Linked DNA regions of Homo sapiens: regions 2, 3, 4, 5, 6 and 7 are each linked to region 1. The links are contacts of gene promoters, found by promoter capture Hi-C in blood cells and fetal thymus (Javierre and others, 2016). All regions are on one chromosome and are shown on one strand. Each heading gives the region's core, a stretch centred on a gene start or on the middle of the fragment in contact. The rest is flanking DNA. Distances are from core to core; before and after follow the strand shown.

The links. The method cuts DNA at HindIII sites, captures the fragments that hold promoters and counts their contacts. A CHiCAGO score of 5 or more calls a contact.
Region 2: a fragment that was not itself captured here is called in contact with the fragment with the promoter of RAPGEF2 in region 1 in 4 of 17 cell types (total CD8 T cells, naive CD4 T cells, naive B cells and 1 more); the score reaches 7.9 in total CD8 T cells.
Region 3: a contact is called between a fragment that was not itself captured here and the fragment with the promoter of RAPGEF2 in region 1, in 11 of 17 cell types (non-activated CD4 T cells, total CD8 T cells, activated CD4 T cells and 8 more). The highest score is 18.6, in non-activated CD4 T cells.
Region 4: a fragment that was not itself captured here is called in contact with the fragment with the promoter of RAPGEF2 in region 1 in 17 of 17 cell types (non-activated CD4 T cells, naive CD8 T cells, naive CD4 T cells and 14 more); the score reaches 22.7 in non-activated CD4 T cells.
Region 5: a contact is called between a fragment that was not itself captured here and the fragment with the promoter of RAPGEF2 in region 1, in 17 of 17 cell types (non-activated CD4 T cells, activated CD4 T cells, naive CD8 T cells and 14 more). The highest score is 33.8, in non-activated CD4 T cells.
Region 6: a fragment that was not itself captured here is called in contact with the fragment with the promoter of RAPGEF2 in region 1 in 11 of 17 cell types (non-activated CD4 T cells, naive CD4 T cells, activated CD4 T cells and 8 more); the score reaches 13.1 in non-activated CD4 T cells.
Region 7: a contact is called between a fragment that was not itself captured here and the fragment with the promoter of RAPGEF2 in region 1, in 1 of 17 cell types (endothelial precursors). The highest score is 5.0, in endothelial precursors.

Annotation. Positions count from the first base shown.
Region 1 is chr4:159,101,208-159,105,123 of GRCh38, forward strand. RAPGEF2 (Rap guanine nucleotide exchange factor 2) reads left to right here and starts at 1,872. Exons shown (of 30, transcript NM_001394067.2): 1 at 1,872-3,024. The coding sequence starts at 2,956. RefSeq lists an enhancer at 1,022-1,713 and silencers at 1,362-1,901, 2,032-2,251, 2,292-2,581, 2,330-2,624, 2,592-3,011. The HindIII fragment of the contact is 5,553 bases long and covers 1-3,916 here.
Region 2 is chr4:158,636,639-158,640,554 of GRCh38, forward strand. It overlaps RXFP1 (relaxin family peptide receptor 1), which reads left to right. Exons shown (of 18, transcript NM_021634.4): 13 at 1,370-1,441; 14 at 2,622-2,693. Among named protein-coding and RNA genes, the nearest start is that of C4orf46, 33 kb to the right of the region's middle. The HindIII fragment of the contact is 348 bases long and covers 1,532-1,879 here.
Region 3 is chr4:158,687,213-158,690,224 of GRCh38, forward strand. All of the region lies in intron 5 of ETFDH (electron transfer flavoprotein dehydrogenase), which reads left to right. Among named protein-coding and RNA genes, the nearest start is that of ETFDH, 16 kb to the left of the region's middle. The HindIII fragment of the contact is 2,604 bases long and covers 144-2,747 here.
Region 4 is chr4:158,706,607-158,710,522 of GRCh38, forward strand. ETFDH (electron transfer flavoprotein dehydrogenase) reads left to right here. Exons shown (of 13, transcript NM_004453.4): 12 at 23-244; 13 at 1,758-3,017. The coding sequence ends at 1,921. It overlaps PPID (peptidylprolyl isomerase D), which reads right to left. Exons shown (of 10, transcript NM_005038.3): 10 at 2,521-3,218. The coding sequence ends at 3,130. Among named protein-coding and RNA genes, the nearest start is that of PPID, 15 kb to the right of the region's middle. The HindIII fragment of the contact is 4,560 bases long and covers 1-3,559 here.
Region 5 is chr4:158,725,716-158,729,631 of GRCh38, forward strand. No RefSeq gene overlaps it. Among named protein-coding and RNA genes, the nearest start is that of PPID, 4.3 kb to the left of the region's middle. The HindIII fragment of the contact is 5,384 bases long and covers 1-3,916 here.
Region 6 is chr4:158,752,333-158,756,248 of GRCh38, forward strand. No RefSeq gene overlaps it. Among named protein-coding and RNA genes, the nearest start is that of FNIP2, 15 kb to the right of the region's middle. The HindIII fragment of the contact is 5,362 bases long and covers 1-3,916 here.
Region 7 is chr4:159,441,579-159,445,494 of GRCh38, forward strand. No RefSeq gene overlaps it. Among named protein-coding and RNA genes, the nearest start is that of MIR3688-1, 310 kb to the left of the region's middle. The HindIII fragment of the contact is 1,364 bases long and covers 1,372-2,735 here.

The sequences.
Region 1 (3,916 bases), core at 622-3,121:
TTTGAGAAGGAGTGAAAAGAATTCACACTTTGGCTGCTGTGTTGGAAATGAACTGTATGGCAAGCAAGGTTAGAAAGAGGGGGACCAGGTGGGTGGTTATGACAAAGTGCTGGCCAGACATGATGCTGGATTGCACCAGGGTCATGGCAGTAGAAGTGGTAGATAAAGGTTAGAGTTCAGATATGGCATTCTGGAGGTTGAGCTGACGATTTTTACTGACACTTTTGAGGTATAACAGAAAGAAAGGAGTCAAGGAAGTCAACGTTTTCACCCAGGAAGTGAGAATGGTGTAGATGTGATTAACAGAGGATGGGGAAGGCTGTGGGTGTCTGAGACAGGAGATCTGGAGCCTGGTTTGCACATGTGAATTCTGAGATGTCTATTAGACACCAGGTGGAGATGTCAGTTATATTTTTTCACTTCATTGGGTTTGAATTCTTTTATCTGCCTCTCTCCTTTTTTCAGAGCTGTATTGGCACTTATTCATGTTCCTTTGCTTTCAAGGTAGTGGCCTATGTCATAGAGAATTTGATGTTGGCGCTCAACTAAGAGGTGAAAGAGAAATATAGAGAAGCAGTTCCAGCAAGAGTAATATAAAAAGGTCTACAGATACAATTTGTAACTCAGATTCCCTTTCACAAGGTTGGGCAGGGACAGTCCCTTTGCTAGGAAGTCACACAAGCTGTTTAGTGCACACAGGTGACTTAAGGAACCCCAAAATGTTAGCTGACAATCTATTCCAAGTGTTTAAACTAGATGTTGAAAATCATGTTTGAAAAGTTCAACGCAGTAGCTCATACATAAAACTCATTGTGTCTATAGATATCAAAATAAGAACTTGTGGGGGGTGGGGGCAAACAAAAATAAATCCCTGGGACCAGAACAGCAGAGTGGTCCCCGATGCTTGGGCTGACCTTAACACACCTCTACGTGGCCGGGGCAAGGAGTGGGGGGGAGCTGAGGGAATCAGCAGGAGCGGTGACATCTTGAAGGACGAGGTATTGTTTCTGCACCATGTGGGTCCGGTTTGGAAATTTGAGCATCTAGAGGAGGAGGCTTGTTCTGTCCAAGGCAAAGCCAGACCTACCAATAAATGTTTCTGATTATGTCACAGAACTTGCCATCCTGGTCTGTCGCTAAGGAGTGATCAACTTTAAATCTGGAGTGTTTGTTGGTCTAGGGGTGGTAGTGGGTCTGGTGTTGAAACCTCTCTGCCTAATTTCGTGGTCATTTTACTGTCTGAGGTGCCAGAGTGGGCTTGGAAAGCAGGGGAGGGTGCAGCAAATTACAAATAAGCAAAATAAATCCTAAGAGGATTTATCGCCACAGAAGCAACTCGGACGCAACTCTTGGGCTCAAAAAGAATGCCCAGTACAGCCCGGGCTGGTGGGCCGGTCTTTTGCCCAAGGTTAGCTTTCAGCCCCTGGGCGGCGGCGTGGCGCCAGGAGCGGGCGGGGAGCAGCGACCCGACGCGGCTGGGTCTCCTAGTAGGGCGCGTCGGGTGTGGGGAGGGGGCGCGGCGTGAGACAGTGGGGGACACTGCGTGAGGAAAGCCCTGCGCTTCTCTCCGGGGCACCAGGACTTGCGCCCCCTCTTCGGGTCCAGGCCGCGCGCGGGACCCGACAGCCCGGCCGAGGGCTCCGCGACCCACTTGCGGCCAGAGCGCTGCTCACCTGGGCGCCGCCGAAGGTGCCGCTCAGACGCGAGGGCGCGGCCGCTGGCGGGCGGGGAGCGGGGAGGCGGGACCCGGCGCGACGGGGCTGCCCCGCCCCCCGATGATGCGGCGGCCGCCGACTCGCCCCCACGCTGTCACTCATTCCTCACCATGGTTGCAGCACAAAGCAACAAGCCCCAGAGGCCGCTTCCTCCCTGAGGAGCGGCTCCGGCGGCCGGAGAAGGCGCAGGAGGAGGAAGAGGCGGAGGAAGAGGAGGGGAATCGCCGCTTCCCAAACACTCTCTCCGAGGGGGCTGTGCGCGGCTCTCGGCTTTCGGCCCTCGGACGCCCGCGCCGGGAGTCCGAACCCGGGCTGTCCGCGGCCCCCTCTTCCCCCTCCTCCGCCCCGCGCAGACGAGGAACAAAGTTGCCGAGAGCGACTGGGCCGGAGGGCTGCAGCCCGGGCCGGGTGCTCTGGCCGCGGCGGCGCCGGCGCCGGGGCAGCTCCGCTCCGGGCGCGCTGATGGGGGGAGGCGGCGGCGGCGGAGCCCACAGCGGCGGCCCGAGCAGCAGAGGCGGCGGCGGCGGCGGCTGGGCGGCCCGAGGGGATGCAGCAGCAGTCGGGAGGGACGGCCGAGCCCAGTAGACAGAGACCAGGAGCGGCGGCCGAGGCGATCGGGCTTCGCAGCGCCCGGACCTGAGCCAGACCCACCTGGTCCGTCCTCCCGACCGGCGGCCGAGGCGCCCGAGGACTGGGGACGCGGAAGATCCAAGTGATTCTCGGAGACCCCTGGGCGGCGGCTGCGCAAGCCCCTGAGAGGAGGGGGCGACCCTCAGCGCCGTGGGGGAGGAGGCTCCGCCTGCCCACAGCCCTCCCCACTGCCACTCGTACCTCCCTAAAAATAACTCGGGCCCGCTGGGGCCAGGAGGAGCCGCCACTGTCCCCCGAGTGGAGCCGGGGAGGCGTGTCGAGCCAGGGCCGGAGGAAGCCGGCGGAGCGGCGAGGAAGAGGAGGAGGAGGAGGAAGGGGAGTTCCGCCTGCGGGCCGCATCGCACGGCAGCCTAGGGGCGCCGCGACCCTCCCGGCTGCGTCCAGCCCCTCGCGCCTGTACCGCGCTCTCGGCCGCCGGGCCCAGCCGAGCCGCCCCCCCGCGGGCCCCGCGCCGCCGCCGCCGCGGTTTGGCTGATTAGTCGCGGGCGGGCGGGCGGGCGCAGCGCGCAGGGCGGAGGCAGCAGCGGCGCTGGGCCGGGAGGAGGCCGGCCAGGGTGCGGAGCGGCCCCGGCCCGCTCCCAGAGGGGAGATGGCGTCCTACGTAGATAACAGCTTCCGCCAGGCGGTGATGAAGAATCCCCCCGAAAGGACCCCCCAGGTGAGAACGCGGCGGCCGCCTGCCCTTGGCCGGATTTCTGCCTCGCAGGCTGCGTCTTCCCCTGTCCCCCCACCTCCTTCCTGACACAGTTCGCCCCGAGCACCCCACTTCTTGCATCAGGACCCCCAACTTCCAAAGGCATCCCACCTCCGAGTCTTTTACTCCGCCTATCCTGGTTTTATTTTTCCCTCTCCTTGACATTCTGCTCCTTAACTCTTCCCTCCCCATGACTGACCTTTCCCACTATGTTGCCCAGCCGAGAGAGAGAGAGAGAGAGAGAGAGAGAGAGAGAGAGGGAGAGACAGAGAGAGAGAGAGAGAGAGTGTGTGTGTGTGTGTGTATGTGTGTGAATGTGTGAATTCTCTAGCTTTCCCTCTCCCCAGCCGCCCTCCGTGGCCTCTGAATCTCAGGGGATGGAGTCTCATCTCCCCTCGGGCAGCGACTCTTGCTCCCTCTGACTCCAGATCCGTTCCTCCCCTTGCAAGTGACCCTTGGAGTTCAGTGGTGTTTGAAAGGTATAGGAGGAAACCTGTACGGTTGTGCTAAAGACAAATCCATGCTGACCTTCAGTAAAACATTGAGGTGTTTGTATGTTTACTGTTTTGCTTTTATTTTTTAAAGGATACTGCTTTCAATTGAAGGGAAAAAAAGTTGAATAGCTAAGTTAGTGCTTTTAGTTTAAATTGCAGACATAGCTGCAGAGCAGGCATGTTCCAGTACACCCTCGGGAAGGGCACCCTGCGGATTCTTTTGGTGTTGCACAACCTTGTCAAAATTAGATAAGTTTGTTAACCTTTATACATTTGTTTACCTGCAGGCTTACTCTTCTCTTACTTATAGCGGCTGATAGGGTTGGATTTGGTTGTCTCAAGTTTTACTGGAGAGGGGGAAA
Region 2 (3,916 bases), core at 456-2,955, 460 kb before region 1:
AAAATTGTATATATTTATCAGTACAACATGATGTTTTGAAATATGTATACATTGTGGAATGCCTAAATTGGGCTAATTAACATATGCATCATCTCACATACTTATTTTTTGTGGTGAGAACACTTAACGTCTACTCTCTTAGCAATTTTCAAGAATACAATACATTGTTATTTGCTATAGTCAGCATGTTACACAATAGATGTCTTGAACTTATTCCTCTTTTCTAAGTGAAATTTTTGTACCTTTTGACCAATATATTCCAATCCTTTCCCACCTGCCTCTAGTGACCACCTTCTACTCTCTACTTCCATGAGTTCAACTTTTTTAGATTCCACATATAAATGAGATCATGTGGTAATTGTCTTTCTATGCCTGACTTACTTCATGTAGCATAATGTCCTCCAGATTCATTCATGTTGTTGCAAATGACAGGATTTTCTGTGTTTTTTAAGGCTGAATAGTATTCTATTGTGTATGTATACATATTTTTTTATCAAGTCATCCTTTGATGGACACTTGGGTTGAATCCATACCTTGGCTATTATGAATAATGCTGCAATGAATATGGGAGTACAGAAATCTCTTTAATATACTGATTTTATTTCCTTTGGATATATATCCAGTAGAGGAATTTCTGGATCATGTAGTAGTTCAATTTTTGATTTTTGAGGAAGCCCCATACTATTTTCCATAATGGTTGTACTAATTTATATTCCCATCACCAGTATGCAAGGGGCAACCTTTTCTTCAAATCATCCTCAACCCTTATCTTTCATCTTTTTGATAAAAATTATTCTAAAAGGTGTGAGGTAATATTGTGGTTTCAGTTTGCATTTCTCTGATGATTAGTGATGTTGAGCACTTTTTCATATACCTGTTAGTCATTTATATGTCTTCTTTTGAAAAATGTCTATTCAAGCCCTTTCCCTAATTTTTAACCAGCTTATTTGTTTTCTTGCTGAGTTGTTTGAGTTCCTTACACATTTTGGGTATTAACCACTTACCAGATATATGATTTGCAAATATTGTCCCCCATTACACAGGTTGTCTCCTCACTCTGTTGATTGTTTCCTTAGCTGTGCAGAGGCTTTTTAGTTTTATGTAATCCCATTCATCTATTTCACTTTTGTTGCCTATATTTTTGGGGCAATATCCAAAAAAATCATCACCCAGGTTAATGTCCTGGGGCTTTCCACCTATGTTTTCTTCTAGTCGTTTTATAATTTTACAGTTTAAGTCTTTCATCCATTACGAGTTATTGTATACTTTCGTTCATAAATATGTTAAAGTAACCCAAAATAAACAGATTCACTCGCTTTACTCATGTAGTTTTTAGAAATGACCTATTGCTGCTTTTTTTAAAAAACAGGAATCTTTCCTATAATCCAATCCAGAAAATTCAAGCAAACCAATTTGATTATCTTGTCAAACTCAAGTCTCTGTAAGTATTCACATATGGGGATAGTTTTATGATAAAATTGTTTTTTAAATACTAACAATGTATATTTTTATATATTTACTTCAAATCATAAGCTTTATTTCCAAGACATTAGTTTAGCTCCACAAAAACATATGGGTGCTTGCTGAACTATAAACAGACAACTATTAGTTTTATCTTATATACTTGTAAATTAAAAAATAATGATGAATTATTTTATATTTTTCTATAAGTCATTAGGAGCTTATGTTGATTTGTTTGCTTTGACCCTTCAAAGACATCTGTGCATATTCACTCTCTTAACACTGGGTATTTTATAATTTATTATAAGTGTTTTTACCCCAAGATGGAATATGCTAGATTATATAAATCCTTACTTGTACCACACACACACAAAAAGACAAAAATTCTGTTAGAGCCAAAGAATTGCCTTAAAAGATAAGCTTCAGGGCTGAGTGCAGTGGTTCACACCTGTAAACTCAGCACTTTGGGAGTCCGAAGCAGGAGGATTGCTTGAGATCAGGAGTTGAAGAACAACCTGGGCAACATAGGGAGATGCTGCCTCTACAAAAAAATAAAAATAAGCAAATTAGTTGAGTGTGGTGGCATGCACCTGTGGTCCTAGCTACTTGGGAGGCTGAGGTGGGAACATTGCTTGAGTTGGGAGGTTGAGGCTGCAGTAAGCCCTGTTCATACCACCACACCAGCCTGGGCAACAGAGGAAGACCCTGTCTCAAAAAAAAAAAAAAAAGGTAAGCTTCAGTTCATTTAATTTGAGTGTTCCCTCAGTAAAATGACATTTTATTAGAAAAAAATTTATTAATTAAAAATTACTAGGAAATTTTCAAGGATGTAAAGCATCCTCTGCTATTGTAATATTGTACAAAAGATAATGCTTGTGCATTTATTCCACACATATTTATTGATTAGTTAAAATGCACAAAGCATTGTGCCATGATCTGTGAGGATCTGAAAAAAATCAAATAAGGAAGATAATACGTGTATAAATAACACAATCAGAAGGAGGAGGATTTGGGGAAGTGGGTGGGTTGAGTATAATTATTTTGTTCAGAGTAAGTGTTAACTAAAAGCATTTTATTAAATTGTCCTTCACAGAAACTCAATTTATTAAACCATGTATAATACATGTTCCTTTGATTGATTATTAATTTGATATTTTTAGCAGCCTAGAAGGGATTGAAATTTCAAATATCCAACAAAGGATGTTTAGACCTCTTATGAATCTCTCTCACATGTAAGTAGATATTTTATTGTTTTTCACTGTGATGTTAATATTTGTTTCCATGTGTATTATGATAATGCATCCAATCTATTAATATTTTCTACTAATTTGCCAGCTATAAACTGAAAGTTTGTGTTCCTCCAAAATGTATATATTGAAATACTAACCCCAATGCAATGGTACAAGGAGGTAGGGCCTTTGGGAGGTGACTAGGTCATGAGGACAGAGCCCTCATGAGTGGGATTAGTGCCCTTAGAAAACAGACTCTGGTCCAGGCCAGTGGCTCATGCCTGTAATCCCAGCACTTTGGGCGGCCGAGGTGGGTGGATCACCTGAGGTCAAGAGTTCAAGACCAGCCTGGCCAACATGGTGAAACCTCGTCTCTACTAAAAATACAAAAATTAGCCAGTCGTGGTGGTGATTCCAGCTACTCAGGAGGCTGAGGCAGGAGAATCGCTTGAACCCTGGAGGTGGAGGTTGCAGTGAGCCAAGATGGTGCCACTGCACTCCAGCCTGGGCGACAGAGTGAGACTCCATCTCAAAAAGAAAAAAAAAGAAAAGAAAAGAGACTCTGGAGACGACCCTTGCCCCTCCACCTTGTGAAGACAGACAGAGAAGATGGCCATCTATGAAACATGTGGTCCCCTACCAGACACTGAATCTGCTGGCACCTTGATCTTGGTCTTCCCAGCCTCCAGAACTGTGAGAAATGAACATTTGTCGTCTAAGTCACTCAGTCTATGGTATTTTTGTTACAGCAGCCAAGTGGACTGAGACATGTCTAAACAATAATTAAAACTCTTAAACCTTTGATATTGGGTGAGATGATTTTAGTTTTCCACAGTCTGGTAGAATCTCATAGGAGATTTTTTGAATCTCAGGAAACATGATGTGAGGGGAATCCACTTGGTCTTGTAAGAAGTTCTCCTCAGCTCTAATAACTGTTCACAGATATTGATGTTTGCCTAATGAGCTAGTAATTGGTGTATAGGGTGTGTTAGTCCATTTTGCATTACTACAAAGGAATATCGGAGGCTCGGTAGTTTATAAGGAAGAGTTTATTTTGGCTCACAGTTCTGTAAGTTGTAAGAGAAGCATGGTACCAACCTCTAATTTTGGTGAGGTCGTCAGGAAAGCTTTTAATCATGGCAGAGGACAAAGAGGGAGTAGGTGTGTCAAATGGCGAGAGAGAAAGCCAGAGAGAGAAGAGGAGGTGCCAGCTCTTTTTAACAATC
Region 3 (3,012 bases), core at 196-2,695, 410 kb before region 1:
AGAAGTAATTGTTTGCTTCTTTGGTAGGCCCGTATTTTAGGAAGATAAGGGAACTTCAGAGAACAACTTCATCCTGTGCTTTGGGAGAGACAGACGATTAAGAGACAGGGACAGTTGGCCAGGGAAGGTCAGAGAGACATTGAAGCTTCTTCAGTTCAGCATGTCAAAGCACCATATTTTGGGATATCGGTTTCTGAGCCTCAACATCAGCATGCCAGGGACATACTTTTTAGGGTATTATCTTAAGAGCCCCAGCACTAGCTTAAATATTCTCAGTGCTTTCAGCCATGACGGTACATAATTTGAGTTTTGAGTTCTTTCAGTATTCTTGCTGCCCACTTCTGAATGGAACCTCTTCTTACCCCCTTTACAAAGTGGCACCCAGAATGAATAAACCACTTCATGTCTAGTGTAGAACTGTTATCTTCTCCATTCTAGAAACTGGTCTTCCATTAATTCCCTCAAAGTAATTACTTTTTTGGCAACTACATCACACTATTGATTCTTATTATGCATTACTGGGGAAATTATTAAAAATAAAATCTTGGCCGGGCGCAGTGGCTCATGCCTGTAATCCCAGCACTTTGGGAGGCCAAGGCAGGCAGGTCACGAGGTCAGGAGATCAAGACCATCCTGGATAACATGGTGAAACCCCGTCTCTACTAAAAATACGAAAAATTAGCCGGGCATGGCGGCACGTGCCTGTAATCCTAGCTACTTGGGAGGCTGAAGCAGGAAAATTGCTTGAACCCAGAAGGCAGAGGTTGCAGTGGGCCGAGATCATGCCACTGCACTCCAGCCTGGGTGACAGAGCGAGATTCCATCTCAAAAAATAAAAAATAAAATCGCCTGAGGACCCAGAAAAATTCTCTTCATAAATTATAAAAAAGAATGAAACAGGCCAGGTGCAGTGACTCATGCCTGTTATCCCAGCACTTTGGGAGGCCCAGGTGGGCGGATCACGAGGTCAAGAGATCGAGACCATCCTGGCCAACATGGTGAAACCCCCTCTCTACTAAAAATACAAAAATTAGCTGGGTGTGGTGGCAGGCGCCTGTAGTCCCATCTACTCAGGAGGCTGAGGCAGGAGAATCACTTGAACCCGGGAGGCAGAGGTTGCAGTGAGCCGAGATGGTGCAACTGCACTCCAGCCTGGCAACAGAGTGAGACTCTGTCTCAAAAAAAAAAAAAAAAAGGGCACAGTGGCTCACACCTGTAATCCCAGCACTTTGGAAGGCTGAGGTGGGCGGATCACGAGGTCAGGAGATCGAGACCATGGGGAAACCCTGTCTCTACTAAAAGTACAAAAGATTAGCTGGGCGTGGTGGTGGGCACCTGTAGTCCCAGCTACTTGGGAGGCTGAGGCAGGAGAATGTCGTGAACCCGGGAGGCAGAGCTTGCAGTAAGTCGAGATCACGCCACTGCACTCCAGCCTGGGTGACAGAGCAAGAGTCCATCTCAAAAAAACAAAAAAAAAGAACGAAACAGTTTTATTCTTGAATTAGGCTTAAACCAAGACTGATGCATATCACAGGCCAAGACAGAAATCTCACCCTTTTAAATAGCCAGGTAGATACAATCCATTCATTACATACATGTTAACTGTTTTTACAGATACAATCTATTCATTACATACATGTTAACTGTTTTTACTCTAAGGAAAAATAAAATATCTCGTTTTTTTGTTGTTGGTTTTTTTGTTTGTTTTGTTTTTTGACAAGCAGGAAGTTACAACTTAGAGCCAAACACCTACCCAAATTCCCATAGACACAGGAAGACAGGAGGCATCCTTCTTGGTGTTCCATTTCAAAGCAATGGCTCCAAAGCCCTAAAAAAGACATTCCTGGAATGCAGTTTAAAAAGACTGCCATGTATCTCAGAGAGACAAATAAAGGATTTACAGTTGGAAGTTTGCTAAAGGAAATGCTGAAAGAAAAGTTATTGGCAGCAAGGAAAATTCAGTTTTTTTTATTTGTTTTTACCCTTACAGTTTGTAAGTCAAATAAAACACGTAGGTCCCTGTATTATACTTGCTGCTATAAATTTCTGTTTTCCTAACCCATATACATGCATTTGGGGTTTTTGGACCCAAGTGTGGGATTTTGCATTTCTCCTTGTTAAACATTGTTGACTGGAATCGGTGTCAAAGTCACAGGTAGGTGGTTTGTAGAATCCATGATTTTCACTTTTGGAATACATACATGAACACTTATAGTCACTTGTATCACTTTTCTTTTTCTCGGGTCCTTAATGATTACCATCAACAGATTATTGATCTCTTTGCCAGGGTTTTTTGAGGGTACACTGAGCCAAACTTCAGTTTAGTCTGTAGCCATATTCTGCTGTTGATTTGTTCGTTTTCAGGATCTCAAATAAAACCTTCATATATATATATATATATATATATATATATATATATATATATTGTGGGGGGGTGGGTTCATATCCATTGCTGCTAATCTTTTCTTGTACTTCTCCATGCCCATGCTTTCTTACAATCTGCTGTGTAATTGCATTGTACATTTTGTACTTTACTATCCAGCGAGCATTTTCCTCCACAGAGAAAACAGAAACCAAGGGTTACAGACTATTGCTATTTCTCCTCATCAGAATTACACTTTTGACCTATTTTCCCCTTTTTTCTTGCTCCAAAAATAAACTTTTATCATCCTTGGTCTGTCTTCAGCTTCTCCCTGTTTTGTTTTATTTTTGTTTATTGAATGAAGTCTTCACTCATTTGAGATGTAAGCTTTCCTGACAGTTTCTCTCCACCTTCATGTTCTTCATGTGTTACAGGCCTCCATTTCAGATTCTTTACACGATTTGACATCTGAAGGGCACTTCTTGTTTAATCTTACTGGTTTCCCTAGTAATCTCTCTAGTAGTCTCCCCCTTTTCTTTCTCATCAAGGTTGTGGCATTGTTTTCATTTCCCATTGTGCGAGCTCTGTTCTTTAATACTCTGGAAGGGAGTACCTTAATACATGTCTCTTTATTACCTGAACATTTTAAA
Region 4 (3,916 bases), core at 30-2,529, 400 kb before region 1:
ATTTCCCTCAAAATTGTTGAAGGTTCTGACTTTGAACGGCTCAAGCCAGCCAAGGATTGCACACCTATTGAGTATCCAAAACCCGATGGACAGATCAGTTTTGACCTCTTGTCATCTGTGGCTCTGAGTGGTACTAATCATGAACATGACCAGCCGGCACACTTAACCTTAAGGGATGACAGTATACCTGTAAATAGAAATCTGTCGATATATGATGGGCCCGAGCAGCGATTCTGTCCTGCAGGTAATAATTTCCATCTATTCCTAAATATTTGCTTTAAACATTTTAGGAATGTGATTTTGTTCTTTTAAAAAATGATTTCTGTATCTCCTTCCATTCCTTAGAAATTGTAAATGACTTCATCCAGCTTCCTTTAGGAAACATACTTTTAACTACTGGTTTTGTTAAGCCTAGTTCAGATAACATTTCTCAAAAAAAAAAAAAAAGCCCTTTGTCTACACTCAGACTAAGATGAAGATTCTTGAAAATGAAATACCTCTCTTTGCAGGTTCATGTGACTATTTAAAGTCATTTCTGTCATGGCAGCTCATCTGTATGTATTTGGGTGCATGTACTAGAACAGCACATTATGATTACATTCAGTCCAAGGAATGCTCTGAAACTTTAAATTCACCATGAATATTCTTTCAGTGCTGAGCTTTCAACTGAAATTACAGTAATAGGAACCAGGTCTCAAATGATATGGTAGAACAAAATAGTATTCCGATACTCGAAAAGTAGTACATTCACAAAAGAAGATACACTGTGACTTGGTCTTTTGGCTTTTGTCATTACAGTGGGTTGAAAACTCCCTGAGGTTAAATTTGGTTTTTTAGCTGTACCGTTAGGCTCCTCTTACCCCCAGTCACCCACGGTCTGAAAATAAGAAAATTCCAGAAACAAATAATTCTTGAGTCTTAAATTGTGCACGTTAAGTTTTAAATTGTGTACCATTCGGGCTTGCCCCACCCTGAATGTGAATTATCCCTTTGTCCAGCATATTCACACCTAACATTCGTTATGTTACTTGGTAGCCATCTAAGTTATCAGATTTACTGTCACATTATCATACTTGTGTCCAGTAACCCTTTAGAAATATCCCCACAACGCAAGAGTAGTGATGCTGACAATTCAGAGATGCCATAAAGTGCTTCCTTTAAGTGAAAGGAGAAAGTTCTCTATAAAGAGAAAAAAATCCTATGCTGAGGTTGCTAAGGTCTATGGTAAGACTGTATCTTCTGTGAAAGAGGAAAAAGAAATTTGTGCGTTTTGCTGTTGGACCTCGAACTGTAGAAGTTATGGCCAGAGTGTGGCAAGTGCTTCCTTAAGATGGAAAAGGCATCACATTTGTGGGTGAAATACATGAACAGAAACGTGTTCTGACTGACAATGTAAGTTGAGTACTACCTGAGGTTTCAGGCGTCTACTGGGGATCTTGGAACTTGTCCCCTGTGAATGAGAGGATGACTGTGAATAAGGGAGGACTTCGAGGTTGTGTGGAACTCAAACACTCAGTGTCGAGTACCCTTGATAGTGAGACAACTCAGCTGAATACCGCTGTACCTCCTTTTATTATGTACATGTAATTTACACTCACATCAATAGCAATGCACCAAGGTCTTCATAATCTCTATGGGTAAGCATTCAGAAAGCAACCTTTAAGGTTTCTGTGGCTACTCTTTCCTTAATTTTTACTTTTGAATTTAAAAATTTTTTAAAGTTAGGCACTTCAATATTATTTATTTTTACTTTTCAGGAGTTTATGAATTTGTACCTGTGGAACAAGGTGATGGATTTCGGTTACAGATAAATGCTCAGAACTGTGTACATTGTAAAACATGTGATATTAAAGATCCAAGTCAGAATATTAACTGGGTGGTACCTGAAGGTGGAGGAGGACCTGCTTACAATGGAATGTAAACTGCAGCTAGCCAGTTTCTTTCAAGTATGGCAAGCTAACGTTAAAATGTTTAGAGATTAACAGATTTCAGAATGTCTTTCTGCATATTACTGAACAGAATAGTCACAAAATGATTATCAAATAAAAATTTTATACTATATGTAAGATTGTCCCATAAAGAAATTACGGGTATTGCTTTTAAATAACCTTTATAAGAATGCAGCATCTTCCTACCTCTTCAGTTCTTCAGAGATTCAGTACCAAGAGCAAAATTCACTACTGGACTTTACATTTGACTTGCCAAAGTTAAGTAATCAAATATAAAAATGAATATATATTCTAGACTAAAGTTTTATTGAAACACAGCCATACCCATTGGTTACACATTGTCTATGGCTAATTTTGAATTACAACTGTGCAGGTGAGTGGGTGTGACATTACATGGTCTACAAAGCCTAAAAACTTTATGATCTGGCCCTTGCAGAAGAAGTATGCCCATCCCTGAACAAGTTTGTGTGTGTGTGTGTGTGTGTGTGTGTGTGTGTGTGTGTATTATCTATAAGTATGAAAACCTAGCATCATCCACCATGGATACATCAAAGAATCGAAGGAAACAATATACAAACTTAAGCTCTCATCTCTTTATTCAATAAGATGTGTCTTTACAAGTTTAAAAAGACTGGACACCATTATTTTTTATGAATAATGCACATAACCATTTTAAAAAACATTTTACTTGGCCGGGCACGGTGGCTCACACCTGTAATCCCAGCACTTTGGGAGGCCAAGGCGGGGTGGATCACAAGGTCAGGAGTTCAAGACCAACGTGACGTGACCAATATGGTGAAACCCCATCTCTACTAAAAATACAAAAATTAGCTGGGCGTGGTGGCACGTGCCTGTAATCCCAGCTACTTGGGAAGCTGAGGCAGGAGAATTGCTTGAACCCGGGAGGCAGAGGATGCAGTGAGCCGAGATTGCGCCACCGCACTCCAGCCTGGGTGACAGAGCAAGACTCCATCTCAAAGAAACAAACAAAACCACTTTACTTACTGTATTGTGACATGTTTATTAAGCATGAACCCCTATCAGTACTCCTAAACTGTAAACAGTAAGGAACTAAGGTGTCAAAAGAAACACATTAGGGATCATATTCATAGACAAAAACCTTTACATTTTCTTATTGCATTTATACAATCAACACACAATAAGCAAAACTGAATCCTTTCTAAGCAAACATTTTTGCATATACTGCCTTCTCTTTATCTTTCTGTGCCTTTATCTTTTGTTTGACTTTCAGCAATTCTGCCTGGATAGCTGTAAAATAAATATGCAATGTGAGTTATTTCTCAAAATATCCAAAAAATTATGGTGACTAACAAACTATTTTAATGTTAACTACCCCTTGAAAAAACTTCTCTACAAAGTAACTAAGCCCTAGTAACAGAAAATCTGAGCAATCACACAAACACAGAAATGAAACGTAATTTTAGAGGATGTCAACTGAGAGAACTCAAGTACATCAAGATTTGCCTTCTGCCTCTACATTAGAGAACAGTAATTGCTTCCCTTGTTTCATTTTAGTAATAAGAGACCAAAGACATTTTGTAATACCCAGATCTAGTGTCACTATTCATAGTTGGTTTATTTGAAAAACAAGCTTATTTTTGTCATAGTTTCCTAAAACATATAACCAGTACATCAATACTAAGGTTATAGCCACATTCAACTTGAATGGTCCCAAATGTTAAATTTACCATGAATACTGTGTCTTACAATGCTGAGCTCTCGACTAGACTAACCAGAATAGGAACACAGTCTCAAAGGATACCATAAGACAAACAGTATTTAGACATATAAAAAACTACAGAGATGATAACTTGAAGAATAAATAACGTGAAAAACTACTATATTCTTGAATGGGAGTAGAATGTAAGCTCTTTGAGGGCAGGGACTTTGACTGTCTTGTTCATTGCTATATGATAATGCCTGGCCCAACAGCAGGCATTCTGTAG
Region 5 (3,916 bases), core at 579-3,078, 380 kb before region 1:
TTTTTTTTTTTTTTTTTTTTTTTTTGAGACAGGGTCTTGTGCTATCACCCAGGCTGGAGTGCAGTGGTGCAATCACAGCTCACAGTAGCCTCAACCTCCTGGACCCAAGTGATCTTCCCACCTCAGCCTCTTGAGTAGCTGGGACTACAGGCACATGCCGCCATGCCCAGGTAATTTTTTTTTTTAATTTTTAAGTGTAATTCAAAATGATTTCCTATCAGATTTCCTTGCTGATCCTTTCAAATTCCAGCACATTAAAGTTAATACAAAATGTTAATTTCTTATGTTCTCCAATTCCTGGTGTTTATTCATGGTATTTATTCATGGTGGTTCCCTGAAGATCCAGGACGGCTCAGAACAAAACTCCTGTGTCTCTTGATAAACAAGAGCATCAAAATCATTCATTAATCCAGTCTCATGTCTGGGCTGCAAACTGATAACTTATATTTTGTCTCATATATATCACAATAAGTTCACATTAACATTTTTATTCTGATCTACTAGCTTAAATTTAACATTTTAGTAGAGATGGGGTTTCGCCATGTTGCCCAGGCTGGTCTTGAACTCCTGGGTTCAAGCAATCTGCCCACCTTGGCCTCCAAAAGCATTGCAGGCATGAGCCACCACGCCTGGCCCCTTATCCTTAACTACACAAATTATACAGTCTTATGGGGGAGAAAGACTATTGAATAAACCTCTACAATGCAATATAATTAGTGTTTTAATAGGAAAAAGACAATCACATTCAGCACACAGCAGGGGCACTGAACACAGTAGCCTTTTCTAAGGTCAGAAATATGAGTAAGATCAGTCACAGGAGCATATGTGGCAAGGAAGACAGGTAAGGAGGGAACAGGTAAAGAGCATCTTCAAAGGAGGGGAACTATATATACTTATAAAGTGAAAATGGGCAACGAGAATGTTATTTCTCCATGAGAAGCCAGTTTTTTAGATAGTGCTGCTACTTCAGGTGGGTGTGGACCACTTGTGTATTAGTCCATTTTTCACACTGCTATAAAGGAATACCCGAGACTGTGTAATTCATAAAGGAAAGAGGTTTAATTGACTCACAGTTCCACATGACTAAGGAGGCCTCAGGAAACTTACAATCATGGCAGAAGGTGAAGGGGAAGCACACTTGGACCTTCCCACGTGGTGGCACGAGATAGAAGAGTGAGGAGCGAAGGGGAACAACCTCTTATAAAACCATCAGATCGCATGAGAACTCACTCACTATCACAAGAACAGCATGGGGGAAACCACCTCCATGATCCGATCTCCCTAGACACCTGGAGTCTCTCCCTAGACACATGGGGATTATGGGGATTACAGTTCAAGATGAGATTTGGGTTGGGACCTAACCATATCAACTGGTTTCAATGTTGAAATCAGAAGTCATGCTTTGGTTTGTATTTTTGTCCAGCTCCTTCAGATTGAGTTTTCAAAATGAGTAACAGTTTTATAACCTAGCCCATTTTATCCCTGAAATAGAAAGGAAAAAGAACACTAAGAGGAGCAAACTCAAAGATACCCCTAATTTACCTTTCCATAGCACTTATAACTTTGTAATATACTGTTTACTTACTTATTTCACATACTCATTAAAAATCAGCTCCTTGGGAATGATAGATAGTAAGAGGAGTTTAAAAAAACAAAATTTAGCTCCACAAGGACAAGAACCTTTGTTTTTTTCATTACTCTATCCCCAGCACTTCTAACAGTGCCTGACACATAGTAGGTGCTCAGTAAATATTTTTGAATGAATGAATTATACAAAATACTAATGGCTTTGAGAATTTTATGAAACAATGTTAACAAGAAATTTTATTTCCATGCCTTTAAGTGTAATTCAAAATGATTCTGTGTATCAGATTTTCATGCTGATCCTTCCAAATTCCAGCACATTAACATAAATATAAAATGTTAATTTCTTATGTTCTCCAATTCCTGGTGTTTATTCACGGTATTTATTCATGGTGGTTCCCTGAAGACCCAGGACGGCTCAGAACAAAACTTCTGTATCCCTTGATAAACTAGAGCATCAAAATCATTCACTAATCCAGTTTCATGTCTTGGCTGCAAACTGGTAACTTTGTCTCACATATATCACAATAAGTTCACATTAACATTTTTATTCTGATCTACTAGCTTAAATTTAACATTTTATTACAAGAATTGACACCCATATGCCATAGCCTCTCAACCATTATTATCATGATGAATATACTTAGGTAGGCATATCTTCTCTGCCATCAGAATTCTGGGGTTCACATTCAGTCTGTAACACATCATATTTTGTGCCTTTGGACGAGTTACTTAGCCTCTTTGTGCCTCACTTTCCTCACCTATAAATCAGAATAATAATATGTATCTCCTAAGGTTATTATGAAGATTAAATGAAAAATATTAAATAAAAGTGTTTTAGTATCTGACACACAGTAAGTACTCAATAAGGGTAAGCAATTACTAACCATAAGTAGCTAATACTTCATTATAATAGTTACATCAACATATTTCAAAATGGATATTAAAACTGCAAAGGAGTTTTGAGGATTCCTTTGCATTCTTACAAGGAAAAAAAAGTGACTCTTTCTGCTCTACTGGTTTCTGGGTGTAAAAGATTAATTCAGATGTTACTCTCACTATGTCTAGGTTTTTCACAGTAAAGCAACAGCTTTATATAAACTGTCATATTCCTAGAACCAAACCAAATAAAAGAATTGTACCTTTCAAAACCACTCAGAACTGGATCTCCAGTGAAAAGATAAACCTTTTCCTAGAAAACACTTGTTCTACTGTCAGTCTGATTACATGGAACAGGACTTCTGAGTTCTGACATCTTGTCTGTGCTTAGCAAGGAAAAGAGCAGAAGAGGCAAAAGCATGCCCCGTTTCTTAGGGTTAACACAGTTTCATCCAGATGGAGTGGGGAGTTTTCCTGATAGCCTTGTTGTTATAATTTCTGCCTGTTGCTCATAAATGTGGTAGAATAATATTAATAGATTGCCTTCCTCCCCAATATTCTCTTTTCTCAATCTCATTGCCCATCACCCCAAACAAGCAGCTAGGCATTCTGTGCTCTTTGCTTTTAAAGAAAGAAGTGACAGCAAAGAAAGCAGAGGGAACAAAGGGAATCTCTTCCTGTCTTTGGTGTTGCAAAAGGCTTGGCTTTACAGAAACAGATAAGACTCTTGGCTATAGCAAAAGATTTGGACAAAACATCTTTTATAAGATCATGGCTTTCCATTCTCAGAAAAAAAATCAAACAAAAAACCCACTTTCTGTGTTGGGAGATGACAAGATTGTGGATGGTGCACAGGGGAAAGTGAGAGAGGAGGCAATGGCAAGGCAGATTTCCACAGTCCCAGAGACAGGGAGTCTTACCATGGTCCCCGTCACATACCTGGGAAGCCACCAAACCTCCATAGATGGGTTTGTGAAATCCAGGAGCAGAGGGACGTGTTCCTTGATTCCTGAACTGTCCCAGGAAGGCAACAGGCCCCAGAAAGAGAACAAGATTCATGGTGTGATTAGGTAGATGGGAACTAGACAGGGTCACAGAGATTTTGTATGCCCTAACTTGAAGTGGAAACAAAACAATATCCCTGTACACCCATGTATGACGTGGAAAAGAAAGGCAGCCTCCACATTTAAAGGGAGCCTGCAGAAGGGAACTCTGAACTCATTAGAGATTTGTAGAACTGATAACTGAGTTAGGATCGTGAATTTCTCACTGGATGCCTGTGTAGGCAGATCACATTGAGAACCAGAGGCTCCAAACCCCCAAATTTGCTGTTATATTAGGCTTTTTTGAATTTAGATCCAACCCCAAGGGAGAGAAAGGAGGAATACCAGAAATAGACACGGATTATGATATTACCAGCCCTTTAAAATAGGCAATTCAGAATTGAATTTCA
Region 6 (3,916 bases), core at 762-3,261, 350 kb before region 1:
GATTACAGGCATCAGCCACCCCGCCTGGCTGAGATACTTTTATATAGTATTCAATGCATAATAATCACATCAGAGTAAATGGGGAGAATATGGTGATTTTTAAAAATATATTTTGGAACAAAAAATTATAATTATATGCTGCTACAAACTCCTTCCATTTTCACCTACTTATTTATGTGAATAAGGTTTCTTAGCATTTACAACTATTAAAAAATTAAAAATATAAATTAATATTGAACCTGTCTCATTCTTGCAGTGTAATCTTCATTCATAAGAGTGAATAAATTAAATTTAGCTCCATCTGTCATTGAGAACAATGCAATTTTGTTTATGTTTAAGAATTACAAATTTGAGGCTGGGCACAGTGGCTCACACCTGTAATCCCAGCACTTTGGGAGGCTGAGGCAGGAGGATTGCTTGAGCCCAGGAGTTTGAGACCAGCCTGAGTGACATACTGAGACCTCATCTCTAAAAAAAATTTTTTTTAAAGTTAGGTGTGGTGGTGTATGCCTGTCATCCCAGCTACTCAGGAGGCTAACTAAGGTGGTAGAATCACATGAACCCAGGAGTTCAAGGCTGCAATGAACTATGATTGCACCACTGCACTCCAGCCTGGGTGACAGAGCAAGACCCTGTCTCTTAAAAAAAAAAAAAGTGGGAATACTACTACTACTTCTCTCAGAGGGTTGTTGCCAGGGTTAAAGGAAATATGAGATACACACAAGGAAAATGCTTAGAACAAGGCTTGAGATATAGTAAGTGCTATGCATGGGATTGCTATTACTTTTAAGAAATGGTATGCCACACCTAAGAATGTCAGAGATGACATATGAATGAGGCACCTCTGATATGTGAATTACTACATAATCAGCTTAAATACAAATAATGGTCATACTATATGTTACTGTTCATTCAACAAATATTAACTTGTCACTTGCTGGTTTGTACTTTTCTATGTGATGCATCTTCTTTTAAAAATGTTTTATACTTTTTATTTCCACAAAAATAAAACTTAATTTCTCTAATTTCTTAATGTATAAGGGTTTATAAAAAATAAATCAAAATGTAATACCTTCCGTTTTGGATTTCATGCCAAAAATAAAATTACATTTTGCTATGTATCCAAATTACATCTTACGAACTCCTATAGTGTTTTATAAAGACAAAAACAAATTTTTAAAGGTTGAAAAAAGCTGGGCATAATGGAACATGCCTCTACTCTCAGCTACTTGGGAAGCTGAGGCAGGAGGGTTGCTTAGCCCAGGGATTTGAGACCAGCCTGGGCAACGTGGCAACACCTAGTGGCTATTTTTTCTTTTCTTTTTTTTTTCTTTTTTTTTTTTGAGACAGAGTTACACTCTTGTTGCCCAGGCTGGAGTGGAATGGCGTGATCTCAGCTCACCGCAACCTCCGCTTCCTGGGTTCAAGCAATTCTCCTGCCTCAGCCTCCTGAGTAGCTGGGATAACAGGCATGCACCATCACGCCTGGCTAATTTGTATTTTTTGTAGAAACGGGGTTTCTTGATGTTGGTTGTTCTCAAACTCCTGACCTCAGGTAATCCGCCCGCCTCAGCCTCCCAAAGTGCTGGGATTACAGGCATGAGCCACCGCACCTAGCTAAATTTTCTTTTTTAAGTGTTGAAAAAGTTTGGTAGAGACTGGCTTGCACAATAAAATTACTAAAGTGTTGTCTAAATGTATGCAATTGGCAAAATACCTGCATTAAATTTTTCCAGTTGGACTATAGTACTTGTAAGTGGCAGTTATAACCATTTAAAAATTATTGAATAACCACATACGAACTTTTTTTTCAACTGAATATAATTTAGCTACAGGGTTGGTCAACATCATGGTAGGTAACAATGGATTCATACTAACTTTTTCAAGCCCCTAGATTTCTAGCCAACACATTGCAAGTAGTAATGCACTGGTTTTCACCATAGCAATATACTAAGCAATGGACTAAAAATTTAGCCAATGCTTTCCAATCTGTATCATTTAATGAATTTTATAAAGTGTTTAACTCACTTAACAATAATTAGCTCTGCTTTTGATCTTAAATAAGTAATGGAATCTCAATTATTCTTGGATAAAGGCAGGCAAGCAGGAGGCAGAGAACAGTAATTTTTAAACTTGTTTAGGTTTGAGGCATCACAAGAGAATCTGAAAAATTGTGGACTCTCTTCAAAAAGCTGCACATTCCTACAATACTTTGTACACAATTTGAGGGATCTAAGTGCTGTTTCTCAAAGTATCATCCATAGACCATCTGCTTCCAAATTTCTTGAAGTTCTAGTTAAAAGTTCAGATTCCTGAGCACCACTGCAGATTTACCAGATTGGCCCAGAAATAGGATTTTTAACAGTGTCCACAGATGAGATTATTTTAAGATAGACTGTATTTTTTATCAAAGAAGAATGCACAAATAGCATATTCATGTGTAACATTTTAAAAGTCAAATAGTACTAAAAAGATTGTAATTAAAAAAAAAAAAACAATAGTCAGGCTGGGTGCAGTGGTTCATGCCTGTAATCCCAAGGCGGGAGGATCGCTTGAACCAGGAGGTTGAGAACAGCTAGGGCAGTATAGTGAGACCCTATTTTTACCAAAAAATTTAAAAAATTAGCAGGGTGTGGTGGTACATGCCTGTGGTTCCAGCTACTTGGATGGCTGAGGTGGGAGGATCGCTTGAGCGCAGGAGGTCGAGGCTGCAGTGAGGTATGATTGCACCATTTAATTCCATTCTGAGAGATAGAGCAAGACCCTGTCTCAAAAAAAAAGCAAAAAAACAACAGTCTCCTATTGCAATCTTTCCCACACCCAGTCTCAGCCCTACAGGTTACCACCCTCAACTTTTCTAGCTAATTTCACTGATATTTTACTCTATATCTTAAAAAATTTATATGCTCATGTCACTATGTCTTGACTAGCCAATTTTAGTCCTTGTCCATTGACTTCCTGCCATGGTGAATAAACAGTAGGATCTTACTACCCTATGCTAACTTTACTTTCCTTCCCCCATGTCCCAGTATAGTTGTATAATAACTTTTTGTTAAATCAAGTCAACATTAATTATTAAGACAATGTATTGCACAGAGCCAGATAATGCATTACAACCTCTTTTCCTGCATAGCTTTCATTTTTTTCTGAAGTTAGTAACTGCCACATTGCATCGTTTGGTTTTCCATTTACCTATTGTTAATTTTTTCCCAGTGTTCCAGTGTCTTTGCATATACTTATCATTGACTTTTTTTTTTTTTTTTTTTTTTTTTTTTGAGACAGAGACACACTCTGTTGCCCAGGCTGGAGTGCAGTAGCACTATCTTGGCTGACTGCAACCTCGCCTCCCAAGTTCAAGCAATTCTCCTGTCTCAGCCTCCAGAGTAGCTGGGACTACAGGCATGTGCCAGAGCACCCAGCTAATATTTTTCTTTTTGGTAGAGACAGGGTTTCACCATGTTGGCCAGGCTGGTCTTGAACTCCTGACCTCAAGTGATCTGCCTGCCTCAGCCTCCCAAAGTGCTGGGATGACAGGCGTGAGCCATCACGCCTAGCCAACAATGATGTTTTTTATGCCCAAACATTTAAGTTCCATTTTTCTGAGCTACTCCTGGTGCCCTCTTCCCTCCCCCTCCTCTCTGGCCTGATTGTTTTGTTTTGTTTTTCTTTGAGATGGAGTCTCGCTCGGTCACCCAGGCTGGAGTGCAGTGGTGCAATCTCAACTCATTGTAACCTCTGCCTCCCAGTTCAAGCGATTCTCTGGCTAATTTTTGTATTTTTAGTAGAGATGGCGTTTCACCATGTTGGCCAGGCTGGTCTCAAATTCCTGACCTCAAGTAATCCACCTGCCCCAGGCTCCCAAAGTGCAGGGATTATAGGCGTGAGCCACCACACCCAGCCCTGGCCTGACTGTGTT
Region 7 (3,916 bases), core at 804-3,303, 340 kb after region 1:
AGTTTATTCTGAGGCCTCTCTTCTTGGCTTGTAGATGGCCATCTTCTCCCTTTGCCTTCACATCGTCTTCCCTCTGTGTGTGCTTGTATTCTAATTGTCTCTTCTTATAAGGGCACCAGTCATGTTGGACTAGGGCCTACCCATGTGAACTCATTAATTACTTCCGTAAACACCCCATCCTCACATATAGTCACATTCTGAGGTACTGGGACTTAGGACTTTGCTATATGAATGGTGAAGGAGTGAGGAGATGCAATTCATCCCATAACACAGCGGAAGTGCCTTTTTTTTTTTTTTTGAGATGGAGTCTTACTTTGTCCAGGCTGGAGTGTGAGGGCATGATCTTGGTTCACTGCAACCTCTGCCTCCCAGGTTCAAGCAATTCTCCTGCCTCAGCCTCACGAGTAGCTGGGATTACAGGCACTTGCCACCATGCTCTGCCAATTTTTGTACTTTTAGTGGAGACTGGGTTTCACCATGTTGGCCAGACTGGTCTCAAACTCCTGACCTCAAGTGATCTGCCCGCCTCAGCCTCCCAAAGTGCTGGGATTACAGGCATGAGCCACCACGCCTGGCCAGAAGTGCCATATTCGTTAATAAAGGTGTGTAAGATCTGAAAGTAGAAACAGAGTTTAGGATGTAGATTGTACTGGGAAGGCACAGGAATGGAACTAGACAGATAGGCACATGTACAGCTTGATTGGTCAAGCACGGTATCATATAGAATCTATAATAAATATTTAGTCCAGGGGCCCAGCTATCATCATTAAGTCCAAAAGAGAATGTAGGTACTTCCTAGGGGTATAACATAATGTCCTTCAAGAATATAGAACTAAGGACAATAAGACTACTCTGAAAGAATTAAATACATAACTATTCAAGAATCATCAGCATAAATATACATAATATAATCTTATAGTCCAGATCAAGTCTTGACTAAAATTATTGGCATATTTCTTTTCTTTCCCCTACAAAATACTATGTTAATTAATGAAGTGGGAGAAATTGGTCATCCATAGAAACATCAAAAACAAAAACAGATCAGCCTGTTTTAGGGGCAAATGTTGGCAACGACCACATAGGTGCACTCTGGGTAGAGAACATCTTGACCCAATGACTTGTCAGTTCTTTGAGCAGATAATATACCTTTTCTTGAGAGGATTGCATCATGTTTTGAGAGCCTGATAGTTTAACATTTAGATCTGTTAACTAACTCACATGTAAACCAGTGAGACCTGGTAACCTGAGAAGTTTGGCTATAGGAACAAAATATGCTGGCTAGATAATATGAAGTGCTAAACCCCTAACTAAATATATTTCTTGCTGAAAGTTTATAAATTGACACGCTGGCTTACACATGAGGATTTTGAAAGCTTTGTTACTATCAGTTGGTATCTTTGAACTTGGCCAATCATGAGACTTGGGAAAGTCAAACTTGTAGGTCTTTGTAAGAGTGAACTCTGTATTTTTGTTAATGTACTAAGGTACTGTCGCTCTTTGTGGCTTTGTGTCAGAAGCCTGAGGATAGTTTTGGCATTACTCCAACCTCATCATACCATTTGTGGTTGAATTTCTGCAATAATAATGGGGTATCTTAGTGTTAGTATAGACTATTACAACTGGGAACCATCAGCAGATCAGGGGCTCAGACACTGGGACCGTGTGTGTGTGTGTGTGTGTGTGTGTGTGTGTGTGTGTGTTTAGGATGCAGGAGAGGAGAATTTGGATGAGAATATGAGGTGAGCCCACAGGCAGAAGGGAATAAAGAAAGGCACTACTAGCTAATTTTTATATGCTATTTACTATGTGCCAGGTATTTTCCCAAGCTCTTTTATGTTTATTAACTCACTTAATTTTTATAAAACTCCATGGGGTAAGTACAATTGACTTCTTTATTTTAAATATAAAATTGAGACACTTAGAGGTTAAGTAAACTACCCAAGGTAGAGTAGGATTTGAACTCAGGATGTCTGGTTCTACAGTCTGTGCTTTTGACCATTAAACAACCATCATCATAGGATCATGTAAGAATTCCAGTGACTAGGAAAAGATCTCAGAGCTGGCATCTGGAATTACTTATCCCTGAGTGCTAGAGGCGGTGACTTTGTACCCCTCCTCCCTTGGGAAACTGCAGGTAACATCTTTAGTGTTTATTGAGTGACACTCTATGCTCGGTGTTAAGCTAGGCATTTTATACTATCTCCTAATAATTTAGGGTTAGTTCTAGAAGGTTCATAATGGAACCAAATGCCAGATGATGATGATAATAGTACTAATAAAAATATTGTGATACTCTATAGCAAAAACAATGATAATGAAAATAGCAGCTAATATTTGTTAAGGGCCTTCATTGTGCCAGGCATTGTGCTAAGCACCTTTTATACACTATCTCATTTATAACTTCCCCAAAGCCTGAGGTGAGGACTATCATTTGGTAGAATTGTTGCATTTTCCAGTTTTTTTTTCATTTAAGCCACAGAGAGGATAAATAGTTCACGAATGGCTCTGGTTGAGGGTAGAAGAGAACTGTAAGGAGGGAGAATCAGAATGGTTTTGAAAGTTGTGGAGATTAAATGTGTAAATATTTAGACAAGTGGTTTATATTATAAACAGCTATACGAATGAAAGATTGCTTATACTATCCACCCTGATTTTGCTGTATACTGAAAGCACTCAGAAACCAGCCGGCAGGGAACACAGTCTGCCCCATCCCACTGGAGGATGCTGGCAGCAAAAGCTTCCACCATCTGGCTTGGCAGTGCCAGGCTCTTACCTTGCCCAGGTGCCTGTGTGGATAAGATGGTGGGAGGGAAGGCAGAACCTCCGAATCCATAACTCCCAAATCCTCAAGGGAGACCAAAATATTATTCTGTTGCTTTCTGGAGTTCTCTCAATTTGAATTAAACTTTCCAGTTAAGTCCCATCCATTGGCCAAGTTAGTTTTTGGCCAACCCAATCTTACTATCTTCCATGGGTCCTGCTTGATGCTGCCTCTTCTGGAAGTGAGAATGGGCATTCATCCCTACCATGCCAATTTCTCAAGGGATAAAAAGGAAACTTCCACAAATATTTCACTTCAGTAGATGATGAAGATTCTATAAAGAGATCATACAACTAGGGAAATCTTCCCTTTTGATCATGTCACTTTCCTTTTCAAAAATCTCTGTAATTCTTCAGTGCTTGCAGAATCAATCCCCAAATCCACCAGCCATCATTCAAGGCCCATTAAAACCACACTAACTAACCATCCTTGTCCAGTCACTTCTGCCTCCTAGAGGTGCATGTGCAAGTGGGAAGTGATGGTGAAATTAACATCCTGGTGGTGAACCTCTGACTAATGGGAAACCAGACACCCTTTCCAATCCTACCAAGATGCATTTTATGTAACGTCTCAGGGGTGCAGTTCTACAGATCCAGCAATGAGTTGCATTTAGCTGTGGCCAGATCAAAAATGCATTCTTGTACTGGTTCTCCCTCCCTCCTTGCTTCCCTTCTCTTGTCACTCACTTCTGCTCCCTAATAAAGTAATAAATTATGTGCAAGGTCTCTTCTGCCTCAGGTTTTGCATTTTGGAGAAGCCAGTAAAAACAGTTAAGAACATAGTTTTTGAGATCCTTGTTCTCACTTGTCAAAAATATTATCATTAATCATAATATTATTTGTTTAAGAGCATGTAAGATTATTGAATAAGAGAAGGGCTCAGACTCCACATTGTGTGGTTTTGAATCCTGGCTTCACCACTTAAAGACTGCAACTGGGCTGTATGTGGTGGCTCACACCTATAATCCCGGCACTTTGGGAGGCTGAGGCTGGCAGATCACGAGGTCAAGAGATCGAGACCATTATGGCCAACATGGTGAAACCCTGTCTACTAAAAATACAAAAATTAGCTGGGCATGGTGGCGGGCACCTGTAA